Regions from separate parts of the Homo sapiens genome. Here regions 1, 2 and 3 are each linked to region 4. Evidence: promoter capture Hi-C in 16 types of primary human blood cells and fetal thymus (Javierre and others, 2016). All regions are on one chromosome and are shown on one strand. Each heading gives the region's core, a stretch centred on a gene start or on the middle of the fragment in contact. The rest is flanking DNA. Distances are from core to core; before and after follow the strand shown. Region 1 holds the start of TMEM17 (transmembrane protein 17). Region 2 overlaps LOC105374764 (a long non-coding RNA gene). Region 3 overlaps LOC105374764 (a long non-coding RNA gene). Region 4 holds the start of EHBP1-AS1 (EHBP1 antisense RNA 1).

Evidence for each region. The method cuts DNA at HindIII sites, captures the fragments that hold promoters and counts their contacts. A CHiCAGO score of 5 or more calls a contact.
Region 1: a fragment that was not itself captured here is called in contact with the fragment with the promoter of EHBP1-AS1 in region 4 in 1 of 17 cell types (neutrophils); the score reaches 5.6 in neutrophils.
Region 2: a contact is called between a fragment that was not itself captured here and the fragment with the promoter of EHBP1-AS1 in region 4, in 5 of 17 cell types (M0 macrophages, megakaryocytes, endothelial precursors and 2 more). The highest score is 8.5, in M0 macrophages.
Region 3: a fragment that was not itself captured here is called in contact with the fragment with the promoter of EHBP1-AS1 in region 4 in 2 of 17 cell types (M2 macrophages and M1 macrophages); the score reaches 5.8 in M2 macrophages.

Annotation. Positions count from the first base shown.
Region 1 is chr2:62,502,188-62,506,969 of GRCh38, reverse strand. It overlaps TMEM17 (transmembrane protein 17), which reads left to right and starts at 775. Exons shown (of 4, transcript NM_198276.3): 1 at 775-940; 2 at 4,176-4,279; 3 at 4,420-4,533. The coding sequence starts at 841. RefSeq lists silencers at 595-864, 1,075-1,244, 1,582-1,876 and an enhancer at 4,689-4,782. The HindIII fragment of the contact is 5,299 bases long and covers 1-4,292 here.
Region 2 is chr2:62,453,317-62,458,294 of GRCh38, reverse strand. All of the region lies in intron 4 of LOC105374764 (a long non-coding RNA gene), which reads right to left. It also overlaps a transcript of TMEM17 not described here. Among named protein-coding and RNA genes, the nearest start is that of TMEM17, 50 kb to the left of the region's middle. RefSeq lists a silencer at 907-1,466. The HindIII fragment of the contact is 3,662 bases long and covers 586-4,247 here.
Region 3 is chr2:62,436,736-62,442,038 of GRCh38, reverse strand. It overlaps LOC105374764 (a long non-coding RNA gene), which reads right to left. Exons shown (of 6, transcript XR_002959390.2): 3 at 1-305. Among named protein-coding and RNA genes, the nearest start is that of TMEM17, 67 kb to the left of the region's middle. RefSeq lists an enhancer at 1,264-1,313. The HindIII fragment of the contact is 6,784 bases long and covers 381-5,303 here.
Region 4 is chr2:63,046,417-63,051,874 of GRCh38, reverse strand. EHBP1-AS1 (EHBP1 antisense RNA 1) reads left to right here and starts at 3,354. Exons shown (of 4, transcript NR_033389.1): 1 at 3,354-3,486; 2 at 5,225-5,393. EHBP1 (EH domain binding protein 1) reads right to left here. Exons shown (of 23, transcript NM_001142616.3): 23 at 5,388-5,458. OTX1 (orthodenticle homeobox 1) reads right to left here and starts at 1,045. Exons shown (of 5, transcript NM_014562.4): 1 at 978-1,045; 2 at 558-626. RefSeq lists a silencer at 1,020-1,679 and enhancers at 1,796-2,543, 2,544-3,293, 1,907-3,315, 3,294-4,042. The HindIII fragment of the contact is 1,878 bases long and covers 2,937-4,814 here.

The DNA of each region.
Region 1 (4,782 bases), core at 394-2,893, 540 kb after region 4:
TTCTGTATGTGTATTACACTTAGTTTTTTTTAAGTAATATATCTTGAGAGAAAGCTAGAAAATAAGACGTTTAAAAATTTTTGAATCACCTACAATCCCACTATCCAGTGAAAACGACTGTTAACATTTTGGACTTTTTTCCAGTTCTTTTTTTCAAGCCAGTGTGCACACGCTCTCTCCTCCCCTCCACTCATACACATAAATTTTGCTAAATTAGGTTCATTCTCATTTAGTTTTATTTCTGCTGTATTTTTACATAAAGTTAAACTATACCATTCAATATCCTTTGCAAGCATTTTATAAGCAGCTGAAACATACTCCATTGAATGTATGTGCTCCAGTACATTTAATCAGTTGCCCATTGCTGTTTTCTTATTAAAAAATAATCAGTCACATGATGTCTCTCTCTCTCACACACACCCCTACACCTCTAGACATTCTTTAAGCTCTGCATTCGTTCTCTATTTCTCTCCAGAAAGGTTGTACCGATTTACAGTTCCACTGGCAAATGTGAGGGCTCCTTGTATCGCAGTCCAACCCCAGCTCATTTCTTAGTATAGGTTTGTTTTTAGGATGGTCGAGCTCAAAGCAGAACTAAGGGATCTGCCGTTTTGTACACGGCCGAGGCGCGCGGCTCCCTGGGCCTGGAACGCGCTCTGAGCGCGCCGGTCCCTTCCAGGTTGCGCGGGCTCCGGACGAGACCCAGCCCAGCCGGGCAGCCCCGCGCGCTCCCGGGTCCCGCCGGCCTCGCGCCGCCCGGTTGCCGTGGGAACCACGGAGCCTCGGAGCGCCCGCAGACTAGCCCGTGTCTGAGGGGGTGAGGGATACTGAGGCCCAGGCATGGAGCTGCCGGATCCGGTGCGCCAGCGGCTGGGAAACTTCAGCCGGGCCGTGTTCAGTGATTCCAATCGGACCGGTCCAGAGTCCAATGAGGGTCCGGGTGAGTGACCGAGGCCCGGTGCAGGGGGTGTGGCCTGCCGAGGGCTTGGCGTGGATTTTGGAGCGTCCAGAATTTGCCCGTACCTAAAATGGCGATGTCGCCTTCAGCCAGTTCTCCGCAGTGCGGGAGAGCGCCTTGGAGGAGGGGCCGGGCCGGACAGGGAGCTGAGGCGCTGGCGGCCTCCCGCCCCCGGCCGGGCCTGGTCTCCGCGTGGTGCTCCCTGGCCAGCTTGTTGCAAGCGCGGCAGCTGACGTGGGGCCGATCTCTGTGCCGCGCAAGGCCCATCATTGTCCCGGAGAAACCCCAAAAATAAAAAGATAAAAGCCGCCCTTGCTGCACAGGCTGGTCCCCCGCGCGCCGCGAGAGCGAAGGCCCAAGTTGTTTTGCCTCTGCGGCGCCCGCCCCGGCTTTTCTGTCCAGGATGACGAGGAATAGCCCAAGCAATCCCACCTCCCCCGTCCCCACCCCCACCCCAGGGAACAAATTTGCCTTTTCCCTTTTCCTAGCAGAACAAGTATGTTCCTAAGCAAGGCCATTTTCTCGTAGAAGACATTAAAAAAAAAAGTTAATGAGTCCTTTCAAACCACCATCCACTCCCACTGGCATGTGCCATACTAGCCGGGCGTTCAACAAAACTCACCCCTTCCCTGCCTTCTCCTCCTCCCCTATATGTAACTCTTATCATAAGGTAACAAAATACCATGATGCTTCTGCGTCCTTTAACTTGATGTCAAGTGATAACACAGTTTCCTCCAGAACAGTTTCCTCCTCCTACATCATGATGGTAGACAACACACTGTCAACCAAACCCATGTGGTTTTCATCATTCAACTCTGCTGGGAAATATCAATCTTTTCCTCTGCTTGGTTTTAGAGAATTTTTAAAAGGGACAGAGAAAAGTAAAGGCAGTTCCCAAAGCTGCATTTTGTCACCTTGATCACTTGCCTATTTCCCAAATGTAGGCCTTTATGATTTAGGATGTACAGAGAAAAATGTGAAAAAAATAGGTTTTCACGTTTCTGGTTCCAAGGATGAGGCTTAATGAGCACTAACGTCTGATAATACAAGGTAAAAAGACGTTTTCTGAAAAGGACCAGATAGTAAATATTTTAGACTTTGTAGGCCATATGGTCTCCACGGCAGCCATTGACAATAGTTATTGAATAGGCAGGGCTGTGTTCCAATAAAACTTTATGGACACTGAAATTTGTATTTCATATGGATTTCACGTGTGGAAAAAATATTACTTTTTTAACCATTTAAACGTGAAAAAACATTTTTAGCTCATTGACTGTACAAAAACAGGCAGCTGGCCAGTTGTTTACCTATCCCTGATTTATATTGTATGTTTTAATTTAAATTCCATTTACAGAACTCAACTTGAACTTTTGCAAAATTTAGTAAGTTTATGTCTTACGCTTTTAAGGTTCATTTACATATTAATTTGATTTTCATTTCCATGATTATAAGTTTGATCTGCTGAAATATGGACATAGCATAACCTTTAAGATGTTAACACACAATACTTCTAACATGAAAACCATTCTTTGCAAAATTTGACTACAGTTTCTTCTCAAAGGTACTGAAATGTTCAGCTTGCCCAATTTATTATTCTTTCCCAAATTTTCTTCTTTGTGGATTGGAAGTAGGTTTGATTATTTGTACTGTAATAACAAGTTTATGTCATTACCATGTCCGCAGCTTTGTACTGTTGCTATCGAAAAGATCCTAGGCTGGTGAGTTGTCTTCAGATTTAACAGATTTTAAGAATTCATTCCTTTATCAGTGGTAATTTAATAAACAGTTGCAAGCAAAAGTAGATCATAATAATCAGGCATATTCTTGGAGCTAAAAGAAACTATTTTGCTGTGAGAGACCATGACTATTTCTTATATTTTAAAATAATTAAGTGACAGATAAAAACACTCAGCTATGGAGAAAAGGAGAAAATAATGTTTTTAAGACATTTATTTTAGAGCCTTTAAAATCTTACGTGTACAGCAACTGATTTCAATATATGTGTCTGCTCTTAAGAATTTAGTCAAATTTAGGATGTATTTTGTAGGGCTCAATTTTAAAAATCAAATTCTTAATCTAGGACCCTGCTCTCTTACATAAAAGCAGAAAGTGTTATGGAATCAACCTTAGGTAAATGGAACTCATGTATCACAAATGGCTATGCTAGTAATGTCCTTATGACAGTATACTTTCATTAATTCATTCTTATGTGTATTTGATATTCACTGCGTGGAAAGCAAGATGCTAGATTCTATGAGGGTCTCAAATTAGGGTAGGACATGGTGTGTGCTTGCAATGAGCCTGTAGATAAGTAGAAGAGAAGAAGGAAAGAGGACTAATATTTGTTGAGTGCCTACTAAGTGTGCCAGGCACAGTGCTAGGATGAAATAATTTATATTGGCTCTAATTCTCACAAACAGCCTGTGAGGAAGTTTTAATTTCACTATTTTACAGATGAAGAAATAGAAGCTCAAAGAGTTTAAATAATTCATGTCAAGTCTGACATCCAGGGTCACAGAGGTTTGGGGAGCTCGGATTTGCTTGAACTCTGAAGCCCATGATCTGTTCAGTACACCAGACTGTTTTTTGGGGAGGGGAGTGTGGTTCTTTGCTAGCACTTCTTATTGACAGTTTAGAGTGGTAAGTACCTAAAGGGGAAAGGTATTTCTGCTGAGGTGGGGGAACTGATGAAGGAAGTATTGATGGAAAAGATGACACTGAATTGGACTTTAAAGAATGGCTAAGATTAGGGTATGCTGAAAAGAGAGATGTGTCTAATTATAACCTTGGTAATCCGTTTTTGTATAAGATTAGTTTATCTGTGGGAGATTCATTTTTATTTATTTTATGCATTAATTTTATATGCTATTTACATAGAATTCTACAAAAGAGGCAATGATAATTATCTGTTGAATAGGATTTATGTTGATATTCTACATTAAATCTATACCAGTAGTATATGCCAAAAAGTCAGAAGACTGTAATGGCAAAATGGTAAAATAATTGAAAAATATGAAACGTACCCCCAAATAGCCAATATTTGACCTAACTGGTATTAGGATGAATATTCCTTTTACTGTCAATGATTATAAATAGGCATAAAATTTGGTGTTTTACTGAGCCAATATTATAGTTATTAATTCTAGGGAATAGGATATATATATATAGGGCATAAACCCAAGATTCATCATTTGTTCCTTTTCTGTTCCTTCTGTAGAAAATGAAATGGTCTCCAGTTTGGCACTGCAGATGTCACTTTATTTTAATACCTACTATTTCCCACTGTGGTGGGTGAGCAGCATTATGATGCTTCACATGAAGGTAAATCTAAGCTTTAATACTTTTGCTGCCCTGACGTTGTTAGAGTGTCAATAAAATTCAAGTTCTTAATAATTTTTTCTATCTTAAATCAATGTTACTATACATGAGATTTTACAAACATGTTTTGGCTTTTCTTTTAGTATTCAATCTTACCTGACTACTACAAATTCATTGTGATCACTGTTATCATCCTAATAACCTTAATTGAAGCCATCCGGTTGTATCTGGGCTACGTGGGTAACCTACAGGAGAAGGTAAGCTCTTTTTTCCTTTCTCTCAGTGATAGATATAAATGAAATCAGTTTTCATAACAAGTAAAAGGCAGTGAGGTGTGGCAGAAAGAGCACAGGCCTGAATTTAAAGCCTGACTCCAGCTTTACCACTTCTGTCACTGTGGTCTGTTTGCTTAATCTCTTGAGCCCTGGTTTCCTCATATATAAAATGAGGAAAATAATATTTACTTCACAGGTTTGTTGTGATTAAGTGAAATGATTTATGTAAAG
Region 2 (4,978 bases), core at 1,167-3,666, 590 kb after region 4:
CTGTCGTGCTCCATCAAGAGCAGGCTTGCCTCACGGACACACCTATGCCCATCAGCTGGACTTGACACCTTCCTGGGATCCGCCCAGACTAAGAGATGGGATTTTAAAAGGCTTGAGTTCTAACCTTGGCCCTTTACAAGAATTTGCTGAGTGATTCCTCACAACACCCTCTGCAGTAAGTGCTGTTAGCTTCCCCATCTGCAGTAAGTGTCATTAGCCTCCGCATTTAACAAGGGGAGGAAACAGGTAGAAAGGAGCGAAGTGTTCCCCCATCTTCTGCCACCCAGCTAGTAGCAAAGTCAGATCTAACACCCGGGTCTTTTTCTGACCCCAGATCTGGGCTCTAATCTCTGATTTCTCTGAGGCTAGAGACATAAGCCATGAGGAAAACGTTGGTGCAACAAATGAAGGTCTTAGCTCCCTTGCAGTGGAATAGCCGTTCCTGGGTTCAGCGGCAAAGCAGTGAGGGTAGCTGAGGCTGCTGGAGGCAACCGCTCAGGCCAGGCCACAGATAAAAGTGAGAGCGCACCCAGTTAAACTAAGGCCTTAATTACAGGCTTCGTTTAGAGCCTAGCAGCAAAAGCTTGCTGCAGCCCCACAGGTGCTGGACGCTGAGGAGTTCCCACCAGCCTGGCTCAGCCCTCTGCACCCAGGCAGCCCACCCCACCCCCACCTTCCGAAGGTAGAACCACGAGGACTTCCGAATCAGATGCACTTTGGAATGTGAGATGCTCGGTAAGAAGCTCATTCCAAATCTAGAAGTTCACTGGTATCGGGATGTCCTTCTCAGAGCTTTCGGTGCACAAAGAAACGGACATCTCTGCCCCTGAGGCCGCTATTCCTCACCATGCTACCAACCCAGGCTCAGCTCTCCCTCCGGGGCCTTCCCGCCGCACCCAGCCCTTCCTCCAGGTCCGCGACGGGGAGGAAACCCGGCCAGCCTCCCAGCCCGCAACCGTCCACTCCTGGCTGCCACACCCAAGGCAGTCTCTGCCTTCTCTAGAGCGAGAGCGCAGCGGGCCAGGGGAGAAGTGGAAAGACACAAAAGGCTGCGGGGCTGGGACGGCGAAGCAGCAGCCCGCACGGCAGGGGGCTTGGCAGCGGCGCCCGGGGTCGCCGATCCCCGGCTCTCGGCCAGCCCAGCCCAGCGACCCTTTCCGCGGGGGATGCTGGCCCCTGCTGGCCGCGCGAGAGATCGCAGGGTGGCTATCGCCTCGGGAGAGCAGAGAGGCCCGGGACCGGGAAGCGGTGCCCGCCCCGGGAAAGGGGCTGAGCTCTCAGGGCAGCAGCAGCACCCGGCCCCCGCGTGGAGGTGGTTAGCCTGGAGGGGAGCTGGGAGAAGGCAAGGACGGGAGGACCTGGGCGCGAGGCCCCAAGTTCTGGTCCTGTCCCCGCCGCCACCCTGGTAACAGTGCTAGCTGCCTCAGCACCTCCAGGCTCACACGTGCTATCAAACGCCTCATATCATAGTTTCTAGAAAGGAGATGAGTCAGAAGAAAGAGGTGAGAGGTCTCTAGCATGACTGGCTCTGGTCTCCCTCCAGGGCCTACCTCCAGAAGACTTCCTTCAGCCTGATGTCTTCCTCAAGACCAGCCAACCCCGAACCATGAGCTGATGGGGCCACGTGCATTTCACAGGTTACTGACTGGGTGGGCTGAATGATGGCCCCCAAAGACAGCCAGGTCCTAACCCCTGGAACCTGTGAATATTACCCTACATGGCAAAACGGACTTTGCTGGTGTGACTGAAAGCCCTTGAGTGGGGAGATTATCCCGGATTATTCAGATGGATCTTAAATGTAATCACAAGGGTCCTTCTAAAAGAGAGGCAGAGGAAGATTTTACTACAGAAGACAAACAAAGCCATATGACAAAGGAAGCAGACAGAGAGAGAGATTTGGAAATGCTATGCTGCTGGCTTTGAAGATGGGTAAGAGGCCAAGAGCCAAAGAATGCAAACACTGCAGCTCTGGATGCTAGAAAGGGCAAGGAAATGTAGAGCCCCTGCAGGCTCTGCTTACCCCTTAATTTTGGCCCAGTGAAACTGATTTCAGATTTCTGATCTGCAGAACTGAAAGAGAATAAATGTGTGTTGCTTTCAGCCACCAAGTTTGTGGCAATTTGTTACAGCAGCCACAGGACGCTAATACATGACCCTTTACTCTCTGACTCTTGTACTCAGCACTTGGGATCAAACAGTGAACCCGATAAACCTCTACACCTCCCAGGGAAATTGACCATCTCTCTGTCTCTGGATTTTAAAAAGGAACAGCCACGTAGACATTTTATCAAAGATATATGAATGGTCAATAAACACATGAAAAGAAAATGCACAAAATCATTAGCATTAGGGCAATGAAAATTAAAACCACAATGAGATACCACTTCATACTCACTAGGATGGCTATAATAAAAGACAATAACAAATGTCAAAAGTGTGGAAGAACTATAATTTTCATATATTGCTGATGAGATTGTAACATGGTACAACTGACTTGGAAAATAGTTTGGTAGTTTGTTTGGTTTTTTGAGACGGAGTCTTGCTCTGTCGGCCAGGCTGGCGTGCAGTGGTGCAATTTCGGCTCACTGCAACCTCTGCCTTTCAGGTTCAAGCAATTCTCCTGCCTCAGCCTCCCGAGTAGCTGGGATTACAGGCACCCACCACCACACCCAGCTAATTTTTGTATTTTTAGTAAAGACGGGTTTTCACAATGTTGGCCAGGCTGGTCTTGAACTCCTGACCTCTGGTGATCCACCCGCCTTGGCCTCCCAAAGTGCTGGGATTACAGGCGTGAGCCACTGTGCCCGGCCAGTTTTTAGAAGTAATTTACCCAAAATAAGCACATACTCCAAATATATGTGCATATAAGAACAGAAGCTATGAATGTTCATAGCTGCATTATTCATAGCTGCCCAAACCTAGAAATAAATGTTCACCATCAGTGAATGAAAATGTGGTATTTGCAGTGGAATATTACTCAGCAATATAAAGGAACAGATTACTGTTATGCTACAATATGGAGGAGTCTCAAGAACATTACACTAAGCAAAAGAAGCAAGACACAGAAGACCACATATTGTATTATTTATATGAAATGTCAAGAGGCAAATCCATAGAGACAGAAAGATTAGTGGTTGCCTGGGACAGGGACAGGGTGGGAATGGGAATGGGAATGCTACAAGTAGGAGTATCTTTGGAGTGATAGCATTTTAAGGTTGGATTGTGATGGTGGCACAACTCAAAATGAATTTTATGATATGCAAATTGGACCTTCAATAAAGCTGGGTCTCGGCTGGGCACAGTGGCTCACGCCTGTAATCCCAGCACTTTGGAAGGCCAAGGCGGGCAAATCACTAGGTCAGGAGATCGAGACCATCCTGGGCTAACACAGTGAAACCCTGTCTCCATTAAAAATACAAAAAAGTTATCCAGGCGTGGTGGCAGGTGCCTGTAGTCCCAGCTACTCAGGAGGCTGAGGCAGGAGAATGGCGTGAACCCAGGAGGCGGAGCTTGCAGTGAGCTGAGATCGTGCCACTGCACTCCAGCCTGGGCGACAGAGTGAGACTCCATCTCAAAATAAATAAATAAATACATACATAAATAAATAAAGCTGGGTTTTTTGTTTTATTAAAGGCAAATCTAGGATATAGGATAATAAAACCTCAAACCTCACAGGAGTATTTGCATTTTAAGAGCGGGACCTTAAAGATTTCAAAACCTACAGTATGATGGAAAGCCTGGTGACAGACCACACCTGGGGACTATGGCCCAGCACTTCTCTGGATCATCCCAGTGGGCAGCCCTACCATCCTGTACCGCAGCTATATTGTGCCACCTTTTACATTCTGGGGAGCAGTGGGAACAGAGCTGCACACTGTTTGCCTCATACCTTTACCAGGGCTCAACATGGAAGCCAGTACATGCTTCATGCAGCCACGATTCACACAAAAGCACCCCATGCCTGATGCCTCTGCTTTCCACGAGGGAGGCATGGAATCTGCTCCTCCCACCCCCAGAGCTGGGTCTGTGGAGACACTGCATTCCCCTCCTCTCAGTAGGGTCCTGCACCTCATCCCATCCAGCTCTCCCCAGCTCCACTCTGCCGACTAGGCTGCTCTCCAGGGAGGTTAAGATGTGGGAGCTGGGCCAGGAGGCTGCTGCAGCAAGATCAGAGCTGCCAATCCCATTTAGCTCTGCATCTCTCAAAACGCTAAGGCCAGCTTACAGGCACCCCTCATCCTGAAGCTTTCCTTTAAGTAAAAGAGTTCCTTCTAGAAAACAGGCCCATGCCTGGCACTGCAGAGAATGTGGCCCTGCTTCCAGAAACTCAGGACCCACCCTGCCTAACTCAAAGTTTTTCTTCTTGATCTACTTTACAAATTTCTCCCACTCTTACCTCCATGAGATGCAAGCACAGGCAAGTATCTATTCTCTCATGGCATGTGAATTCCCCCACCCTTTAGCTCAGTCTAATAAAAGCAAGCAAACCGTGGGTGAGAACCATATTTAAGACCTCTAGCATCCTCTCCAATGGTCTCCCCTGCAAAATGACAAGTGTAGGCCTAAAACAGAGGAATGGGAATAGCCCCACTTTTAAGAGTAAAGGAGTCAAACATTGCTGGTAGATTTTAAAAAGGTCTACAGAGGTTTTTGTTTATTTTTTTAAACTACACATAAAAGGTTTTCTTTTATTTAGGGTGAAGCTGTCAGGCTCTAATAGCAGCCTGGCATAGACAGTGGCCAAAACAGGAACAGAAGACAGGATCTTGTAATACAAAATAAATACAAACTTGTAATCCAATAAAATACAACTGAGGGTGAAGGAAAAAGGAGGAGGAGGTCTCACCCCGCACCCAGCCTAAAAGGAGAAGAAAGTGCTGAGGCCAAGTAAGTTTTCTAAAACATGTTAACAGTTCCTTGTGTGTCCATCACTAAACTCATTCATTAACTTTCCAAGTTGGTGCCGTGTGCCTCCTGC
Region 3 (5,303 bases), core at 2,523-5,022, 610 kb after region 4:
CGTGTACTCTCTTGTTCCAACAGGCATGGAAAGAACATGGGGTCATGTTCTTTCTATCACAGGGGAGACACCCTGAAACATGATCTTGTCAGGGTTTGCCTCATAATCATTGATTCCTGTGGCCCTAAGTCCACGGGCATAAATAACAACGTGGCTTTGGGGGCCGGCCCAGATGGTCCCCTTGTACCAGATGTTCAGAGGAAACCAACTTCACATCATCAGGTTAGAGAACTCACCCACCTTGTCTCTCGGGACATGGCAGCATTTCACGGGGACGAAGATTTCTGTCCAAGAGAGTCTGAGTCCTGTAGGAAGGAAAGAACTAGGTGGAGGCACTGGGAAGAAAATCTGTTTATATGAGTGCTGTCAACAGCAAAGCTTCTGTTTTGCCCTTTGCATACATTTCCTATGCCTGGGCCAGAAAACAAGCACGTTCAAGTTGTTGAGGGGAAGGTATGAAGAAAGAGGCTTAAAGAATAAGAGCAAAAAGACATAACAAGTGATTCATAGGATATGGTATTCCCTTCAGCTGACATCTAGGACCGGCTCCCTCAAAAGAGTAGGGGGAATGGGGTAGGACCTTGTAGGGGAAGAAAAATAATCCTTTCTACCCTTCATAATTCTTAACCAGGACTCCCTGTAACAAAGACAGGTTAACAAGCAAAAACACAAAAAGAAGTTTGATAATGTGTATATCTCCTGTATATATGGGAGATAACCCAGAGAAATGAGATTTCAAAGAAAAAGTTTAAACTTGAGGTTTAAATACCATCAGTTCTCTGAAATGAAGAAAGAAGTGTATGGGGAAAGACCCTGTTAAGACCAGAAGACCAGGAAAAGCACCTTAGACAAAGGTAAGGTTGTTCTGCAGGTTTAAGTCATGCCTCCTCCATTAAGTGTCTGGTGATTTAGCCATCCTTCTCCTCCTGGGACAGAGAGGGAGACACTCTTACAGGCAGAGACTTCCTTTATTAATATAACTTTCTCTTAAAATTGTAACTTTTCAGTCATATTTTTGTGGTGGCATATTTTAGTGTCCAACCACCTGAAGTCACTCACAGAGGGAAGTCATCTTCATGGAAGCCATTGAAAAGGTAGCTCTGGCACCTGCTGAGAATAGTATGGGGAAGGAGAGCTTTCCCTCTGTCCTCTGAGGCTTTGATGGCTGAGTCTATGAAACAAACTGGCAGTAGACAGATTCACAGTAAAAATGAGAATACGAATTTATTACATGCATGGGGACATCACATAAAAGAAAAGTGTATATCCCCCAAAACCTGGTGAGATCTAGAAGCATATTTACTCTCTTCATAGGGGAGGCTGGAGGGTGATGTAAGCAACTTAGGGAACTGTAAATGAGTTTTGGTGTGAATAGACCCCCTCTCGCCAAGGGAACCAAAAAACAAACCTGAGTTCCAGGCCATGATGGGCTGGGAGGTTAGATAGGTCTTGTCATCTACCCCTTCCTTCACCCAACCCCCATTAGGCCTTCTTCCCTAAGGGTTAAACAGAAACCAGCTTTCGACAGACTTGCTTCACCAATTTCAACCAATCACCTAATGCCGTCCCTCCCTTTTGCTGTTTTGACACAGCAACAGACCAGCATTCTTTCCTAATAGAGACCACCAATCATGAAGTGATTCTGGTCAGTCTACAGAGGCTGTGCACTGAGGGCCTTCCTGTCCTTTACTTCACTTTTTGTTGTAGAGTCTAACTGAATGTTAAGTCTTTACCCCAAAGCGAACATGGAATGCACGTTACATACATGTTAGCCTACTACACATGCACTCACTCCCCTTCATTAATATTTATAGCTCCTCCCATAACCTGTTGAATATGTGTATTTAGCCCTTCAGCATAAATTCCCATCTCATCCTTCTTTCCCTCAGAGCACTTGCTTTTCAGTTTCAGCTAGTAGCTCCACGTCCTGCCTGCAGGTCGTGGTACCCTCCTTTCCAAATGTACGAACCTCGTGATTCTTCATTTGATGCTGGGAAAGATGAGTGGGCCCTCAGAAGAAAAGGTGACAGCCTATGACGAAGTCTGTCTGGGCACGGAGTCAAACCTCAGTCTCCTCTCCTGTGTTATGAGTTGGTCTTGGTTGACGAGGTTCCTGGGGAAGTCTTGACAGTTGAGTTCCTTTTGGAGGATTGTCTTTAGGCAGATAAGGTGAGCTCAAAGCTAGCCTCTGCCTTCATCCACTGTCTCTCAAAATGCCCTCAGTTCAAAGCAATCAGCACACCAAAGCATATTTTGGGGTGGCATTTTCTGAACTCCTTCAGCAGACAGATCACAATGAGGCATCATTTGCTCAGCAGCAACATAAATTGAGAAGCTGCTGGTGTAACACCCAGATCAGCCATTTGCCGCCCAAATTCCCAGCACAATGTTGGGCAGGCAGGAAGTTGTCTCAAATGGTCGCTACTATCAGGAAAGTACCTTTACTCCCCGAGTCTGTTTCCTCATCTCTAAGGCTGTCATCACTACCTGAAAGGGTTTTAGCCCAGGTTTAGTCCATAGCATGCTTTCCTATGTTCTCACAACTGTTTTTATTCTATTGGGAGTGGGTAGGGGTGGAAGATTCAGAAAAGCCTAAGATATGGCCCTTGAGGACATGGTCCAGTTATGGACAAAATCATGTTTGTGGAGAAGTACACAAGCCAGCCTATGATGGCCAGTGGAGGCACTCAGAGGAGAGTGAATCCTGTGAATCCCTCCATGTTGTTCCTATCCTCTCTATTGACGTGGGGCTTTGGGGAAGACTTTAGACTACAAAAAAAAAGGCTCCAGTCAGTTGCTTAACTCTTCTCCACCCCAGACTAATCCATGAGCATGTCCTGTTGACTCCTCCTCCAAAGTATCTAGAATCCAACTAGTTTTCACCCTTACCTCCATACTGCCATGTCTCACACTTGGCATCTCCCTAACTCATCTCCCTGCTTATACTCATGGAATGGTCCATTATATAAAGTGATTTTTGTTCAAAGATAGATACCACCGTGCTCATATCAATACCTTTTAGTAGCTGGCCCATCATTCAAAATGAAATACACTCTTGCATGTCATAATGACATCTTGGTCAACGATGAACCGCATACACAATGGTAGTCCCATAAAATTATAATGGAGCTAAAAGATTCCCATCACCTAGTGAAGTCTTGATGAACTAGCCTCGTGTAGGCCTAGACAAATATGTTTGTGTCCACATTTCCAACAAAAAAAGTTTACAAAGTAAAAAAAAAACAAAAATTAATAGAAAAAGGCTTATAGAAGAATATAAGGAAAACATTGGCTGGGTGTGGGGGCTTATGCCTGTCATCCCAACACTTTATGAGGCCAAGGCAAGAGGATTGCTTGGGCCCCATCTCTACCAAAAAGAAAAAAAAAAAAATAGGCATAGTGGCACACACCCGTTGTCCTACTCAGGAGGCTGAGGCATGAGGATCACCTGAGCCCAGGATGTCAAGGCTGCAGTGAGACTAGATTGCACCACTGCACTCTAGCCTGAGTGACAAAGCAAGACCTGTCTCTAAAAAACAAGCTATTTTGGTACAGCTGTATGTACTTGTTTTAAACTAAGTATTATTACAAAAAATCAAAAAGAAAACTAAAAAATTTATAAAGTAAAAAAGTTTTAGTAAGCTAAAGTTAGTAATTGAAGAAAACAAAATTTTGAATGTAGTGTAGCCTAAGTGTACAGTGTTTATAAAGCCTACAGTAGTGTACAGTAATGTCCTAGGGCTTCAAATTCACTCACCACTCACTGCCTCACCCAGAACAACTTCTAGTCCTACAAGATTCATTCATGGTAAGTGCACTATACAAGTGTACCATTTTAATTTTTTATACTATATTTTTACTGTACCTCTTCTATGTTTAGGTATGCTTTGATACATAAGTACTGAACAATGTGTTACAGTTGCCTACAGCATTCAGTACAGTAACATGCTATACAAGTTTGTAGCCTAGGAACAAGAGGCTGTACCATACAGCTGAGGTGCCTAGTAGTCTGTACCATCTAGGTTTATGTAGGTCTATGATATGCACACAAGAAAGAAATCACGTGATGCATTTCTCAGAACATATTCCTGTCATAAAGTGACATAAAACCATACTGACACCTGAGGGGTACCAGAATATGCCACCCCAAAATGTGCACCATTGGCGTATAAATTATTTTCAGCTAAACGTCATTGAGAACGAGCAGATTCAGAAAAAGCTCTAAAAACAAGTTTTTATATCGTAAAGAAAATTTATATTTATAAAGGAAATTTCCCATCGTAGAGGTGTTTCCCCCTCCAGGAAAGGAAGGATTCTTAACTCTTCTCGATGGAGAAGGCATCAATCTGTGTAACAAACCTTGATACACAACCCTTGCTTACGGTACTTTTCAGGATCGTCTTCCCATAACCTGCCTTCTCTAAGAGCCTAAAACCCTGTTGTTGTTGTTGTTGTTGTTGTTGTCGTTAAGAGAAATAAAACTAAAATCTTAAGGCTCCCAACTGACTGGATGGACCCCCTCTTTGCCAAGCATACCCCAGAGGAAACTTAAAACCTGAGTTCCCCACCATGACCAGATGGGAGGTCAGACAGACCCCATTATACTCTTCCCTCCCTAATTGCCATTAGGCCTAGTTTCCTAAGGGCTAAACAGAAACTAGCTCTTTTTTAAGTAGAGACAAGGTCTCACAATGTTGCCCAGACTGGTCTTGAACTGCTGGCCTCAAGTGATCCTCCTCCCTTAGCCTCCCAAAGTGCTGGGATTACAGGCATGGGCTACCAACCTTGACCAAAGCCATCCCTATCAAAAGACTTGCTCCACCACTGATTTTAGCAGGACTCCTCTCCCCTTTTGCAGTTTGATACAAATACTAGCCAGTATTCCCTCCTGATAGGGGGCCACCAGCCAGGAACTGGTGGTGGCTGGTTTACAGAGGCTGTGCACAGGATGCCTCTGTGACCTCTGTTTCACTCTTTGATAGAGAGCCTGATTCTAATGCATTTAAGTGTTCAGTCTCCACCCCCAGAGTGAACATGGGATGTATGTAACATGCATGTTTGCTTAGTATGTATGTATACATCCCCCTTCTGAATATTCACAGCTCCTCCGATAACCTGTTGAATATGTATACTTAGCTAACCCTTCAGCATAAATTCTCATTTCACCTTTCCTCCTTTGAAGTACGCCCCAGCCTGAGGGTGGCCAGCCTGCAGGCTGCAACCCTTTATAAGAAATAAAGCTCTCTTTTCCAAATGTATGGACCTCATGATTCTTGAGTTGACAGGTATTTAAACCCAAGTTC
Region 4 (5,458 bases), core at 2,105-4,604:
GGGGTGCCACTCTCAGGGGTCAGGGAGGGGCGCTGGAAACTGGGCCTGGGGCCCTGGGGGGCCATCGCTACACCCCGCTTAGCGGGATCGCTGTGAAGCAAGCCAGGGACTCGGGCTAGGACGTTCAAGGAGAGAAGTTAGAGCTAAAGAAGCTCCCCCCAGCCCCGTTCCCGCCCCCGTCTTCTGGGACCCAAGACCTGGGCTGAGGGAGTCCAGCTTGTAGGAAGGGGACCGGAAGGGAAGCAGCCAGGGCTCTAGGGCCGAAGGAAAATGGGACTCAAAGCTGCGACGGCTTTGCGAAGCTGCAGCGTGAGTTTTCAAAGACTTTCTCCAAACTTAGCACTTCAGCTTGGTTACTTCGGAGGAGGCGGGGGAGGGGGCTGCGGGCCGCGACAGCGCCCCGGGGTCCTCGGCTCACCAAGAGGGGAGCCAGGCCGCTCCCACAGCCCCGACCACCTGCTGGGGACCGGGGAAGCCGGGATCCATTTGAGGAGGGGGAGATAAGGGTAACCAACGCGCTCCCGGAGTCCGGGGTGGCCCCGCGGCTTTCTCCTTACCTGCCCTCAGCTGCCGGGGCCGTTCACCATCTACCTGGATCTCTCACAGAGACCCGCCGGGCAGCCAACCTGCAAAACAGAGCAGCACTGGAATTACCCTGGCGGCTGGTCTAGGACCCCCAGGTTTCTTTCTTTTCCCAACTTCCTTCTTCCCACCTCTATCTTTTTTTTCAATGGCTTTGTGCGTGTCCTTCTGGGTTTCACTTTATTGCACAGACACTTTGTTTGCTAAGCCCCACACGTTCTCAGGACATTGCCTCGCCTGGGATCGCGCCGAGGGGCCGCAAGGGGGGGAATTCGAGGGGCAGAGTTGGGAGGTGGCTCGGCGTTGCCGCGGCACTCCCGGTGCAACGTGGAGGCAGTGGGGACTGGGAAGTCCTGCAGAGTCACTTTGCAAACTAAATAAATCAAGCGATTTACCTTGTCGGAGTGGCTTGTCTTGCTCGGTTGTTTAGGTGATTGGAAATGTAGCCTGATGAAGATTGATCACCTTTCTACTGCCCTCCCCGGGTATGTGAACGCGAGGCGAGTGCGTAACGGGGCTAGGCCGCCAATCGGGGGCCCCGCGCGGGCTGAGTGACAGGGAGCCGGGCAATGGCTGCGCGAGCCGGGGGTTACCTCCGCGCGCCCCCGCCCTCCCCCGCCCCCCACACCCCGCCCTCCCCGCCCTCCCGCCCCGCCCCGGTCGCGCGCTAACTCCGGGACTCGGCTGGCAAAAGCGGCGCAGAGCTAGGCGAGGAAGGCGAGCGGAGAGCCCGAGTCCTGGCCGCGGAGGGGGCCGTGGGTCTCCAGGCCTGCCCTGGGCGCCCCCGCCCTTCTCGCGCTCTCGGCGCTCCGGAGGGAGTGGCAGGGAGGAGGCGAGGTGCTGGAGAACCGGTTCCTTCGCTCTCCCGCGCGCTACAGGGCTCAGCCGCTCGGGTGTGGGCGCCAGGACCCGGGGGCGGCGGGCTGGAGGAGCCCGGGCCTCGGCCCCTCTCCCGGCGCCGCGGGCCCCAGCGTTTTCTTCCCCGGCGCCGCCACCTGAGACCGACGCCGCGGGCTGCTCGTGCCGGCGCAGGCTACTTTGCAGAGCGCGGGAGCAGCTCCGGGCGTGCAGATCTCTCCTCGGCCCCTCCGGACTCTCGCGCCTGGGAAGAGCACCCACTGGGAGGGCGCCGCCACTTACCTGCTTGCTCGTCGGCATCTCCCGGGGTTCCAGGTCCCCACCAAGGGTGTTTGCAAGTCTTAAGCGCTTCTACTGAAACGTTGGAGCCCAGCGTCCTCTTCCCCTCACACGTACACCCTACTTCTTAATTGAAACATTTTGATAGGAAAGTTTCTTTTTCGCTCTTTCTCTCTCTTTCTTAGACTGCCTCTAACAGGGACTTTTTGATGGAAAATGTGGCCACAGACCCCTGCCCTCAACTTTTTTCCACATGCTGCGTAAGGATCCTCCTTGAGGCGATTTCCCCGGATTGTTCGTACGGGCGAAGCCCATTTCCCACCCGAAAAAACTTCCCAAACACGTCTACCTGGGTGGACTTTTAAAAGTGCAAAAAAGAGTTTTCGTTCCAACTCTAAGCTAGGCGAATCTTTTAAATGGCACCTCCTCCTGAAAATTAGGCACTTTATTCCCTTTCGAGGAATTTCTACCCCTTGTTTCTAATCTCCCCCACTCCCCCACCCCGACAGGCGGGGTAAAAAGTTTGCACAGGATTAAGTGTGAGGGCAAGTCAAGGAGCCTCCAGGCGCATCGCAGTGGGGAGCACTCGCGCTGCCCGGGCTGCGGGGTCGGGCGCCGAGAGCGGACCGGGCGCTGGGTGAGGAGGAGGAGAACGAAGGGGGAGCCCGCTGAGTGAAAAGGGGCCGCGGCCGCCGCTCATCAAAGTGCTTCCCCCTCCCCCAAGCGACACTTTCCTTTGGAGTCCGAATAAAATACGGTAACAGAATATGATGGAGGGCACACTGTTTCCTTAACTGCTTCTCAAAGGACCCGGGAGATCTTCTTAGGACCTTTAATAAGGCTTTGGTCGGTTCTTTTGTTGATCTCTCAAAATCAACTCCTTCTAATTGAAGTTGGAGCTGAAAGCGAGCTAATGTTCAAAGAAAGTGGCCGCCAGACCAACGAAATTACATTTTTTTTTTGACGATGAGGGAACATCTAATCAAAGAGGCAGGGGAGGAGGGGTGGGAGTGGGGGCGTACGAAGGAGAAAAGGAGGTTTTACAAGATCCTTCTCTGGTTCACAAAAGTCAGCGACACGGGCGCTTCTCTACAGAACAAAGACACCGCGGCCCATTCACAAAAGGGAGAGAAAGAGAGAAAGCTGAATAAAAGAACGAGAGAAATGGGGAAAAAATGAGAGAGAGAAGGAGGGAGAGAGTGAGTGAGAAAGAAGCTTTAAGAGGAAAAGAAACAGTGCAGAGCGCAGCGCTAACCCAGGCGGGGACACACCTTAGGCTCGCGCAGGCCCCTACCAGGAGTAGCCCGCGAGGCCCGCGGTCAGCCGCCCGCGGCTCGGAGCCACTGTGATCGTGCTGAGGTTTAAAGAAAGCAACGAAATATACCCCTTCCTTAGGTTCCGAGGAAAGGCGCCGGCTGGAGCGCACTAGTTTTGGGGGAAAGAATATGCGGACGTCCCGGGGTGCGCTTCGCCGGCGTCCGCGTCCATAGCCCGGCGCTGCCCTAGTCCCGGCCAGTCCGCTGTGTGCCGGGGTTGGCCCTCCAGTGCCGGGGCGCGTGACCTTGCCCCATTCCTCCACCTTAACTCATTCCTCCCTCCACCAGGCCCTGTTTCGCCTGCAGCCTCAGCACCTGACCTGGGTCCGGCGCAGCGAGGTGGGACGGCAGTGCGCTCTGGAATGTGCCAGCGCGGTCCCCGGGGTACGCCTCGCGGGAGGCCGGCGCTCTCGGTTCCAGATGCTGCCACCATTCTCGGGGAAGTTGGGAGGTATCAAGTAGCACGGATTTTTTTTTTCCTAATTAGAGTATTTATCTAATCCCAAATTGCAGGCGAATTTTCTTAACGCTCAGCCCATAAAACCCCAGGATTAAGAAAAGAAAGAGGAGAGGGGGAGAGGGAGGAGAGTGGAGAGGGAGAGAGACTGGGATGAAAGTTTCTTGAAAGCAGCGCAGAGGATTGAGGCGGCCGTCGCTAGGCAAATGTCCAGGTGGGAGATGCTGGGCCAGAAGCCATGACCGTTCCAGCATCGGCCGCGGTGCGGGAAGGGGAAGTGGGGACACCACTGGAGGAGGTGAAGCCGTCCAGCTCAAGGCCCTCGAGCCGGGAAGGGGCGAGGGAGCTGGGTGTGGAGACAAGGATCCAGCATCCAGGTGACCTCCAGGCCCGGCCAGGCTCTGGAGGACACTTGGGACAAGGGGAGGGCTTTGGATCTGAGGCCGAGGGATCTGACCAGGGGCGGAAGTTCTGCTCCGGCCCGCAGACTGTGCCCAAGCAAGCCCGCTGCCAACGCCCCTGCTCCTCTGCGACCCTCGGACCGATAGTCTCTTTTCCCGCAGCGCGGGCTTTCGAGTTCCGGGTCCTCCGGCGTGCTGGGCTCGTGCCCGTTCTCGGGAGCCAGCGTCTGGGCACCACGCAGCGATGTCCGGATGCAGCGCCCTTGCCGCGGGCCTTACCCCGCCAGGCGCCGGAGTCCACGCTCCACCGCCGCTGAGGGGCGTTCGGGCGCCACCGAGCAGCCCAAATTGAAACCCCGAGAGGCTCGGGACTAAAGCTGAAGGGGCAGGTAGAGGGGCCGCCCGGCGGTCCCAGACCATCCTAGCAAATCTGGGGCGAGGGAAGGGTTGTCAGTTGGCCGATTGGGAGCGGCTTCGGGAGCGAAGGAGCTGCTTTTCGGCGAGGCCCCTCGGGAGTGAAGGTTCCTCGAATCAAGCGTAAACTGGGTGGGTGCTGTTGGCCGCCCAGGCCCCAGGCTGCTTGGGGCGGGCGATTTCTGTCTGCTGAGTTTTCCCGGGGTTAGAACGGGATTCTGAGAGCGTTCCCCAGAGAGCAGCAGCTCTCTCTCTGCTCTCGTGCTCGAATAAAGAGGGCAAATACCGACTTCATTTACTTAAAATAACTTTTCAATAACTTAAAAGAAATGCTCATCATGAAGGAATTCTACCGTAGCAAGTTTTTATCATTTTGAAAGACTGGCAACTGGAGGTGGCTGCATACTTGGAACGAAATTTGTTTGTGTGCACATACATACGATCTACGCTGAAGTATAAATGCTAGTGGACTTTTTTCTCTAAGTTTCTGGACTTGTTGAACAAGCTTTCTTTGTTTGGACACCCCTGTGGGGGAATGAAGGAAACTAGCATAGAATCGCTTTTTTTTTTTTTCTGTAGCCTAGAACTTCTTGTTAAAAGTTCTCTTTCCCTCATTTCATACACACATACCTGCATACATTCTCCCCGCCCCCCAACAATAACCCTCTTCCTTTCACTTCAGTACCTACAGACTTGCCGGTTATCAGAAGACACGACTCTCCCTAATACGACTTCAAAACTCTAACAATTCAAAGTAATGACGTGGAAAATTCAAGATATAAATATTGGTTTTTCATTGGTGTGGAATCACAAATTTCCTCAAATCTTTAGCAGAGATGACCCTTTACAAAAGACATGATAGTTTATACTGCTTAAGAATATGACTAATTACTTTTCAATTCGCATTCGTGTGTCAGTAGGGCCCCCTCTGGGATGGTGTAAACTTATTCAGCTTCAAATGCAGCCCAGTATCCTGCCCTAAGTTCCAGAGGACCATTTTCCACATGAAAAGTCTTACGGATAGACAAACTTCCATTCAAGCCAATGTCAAGTTTTCATTGCAAGAAAGTAGCAGCCGTGTTTAAGGTAAGAAAGTTTCTGCTTTTATTGAAAATTTATATATGACTCAGTATTGTAATAAATAAACATAA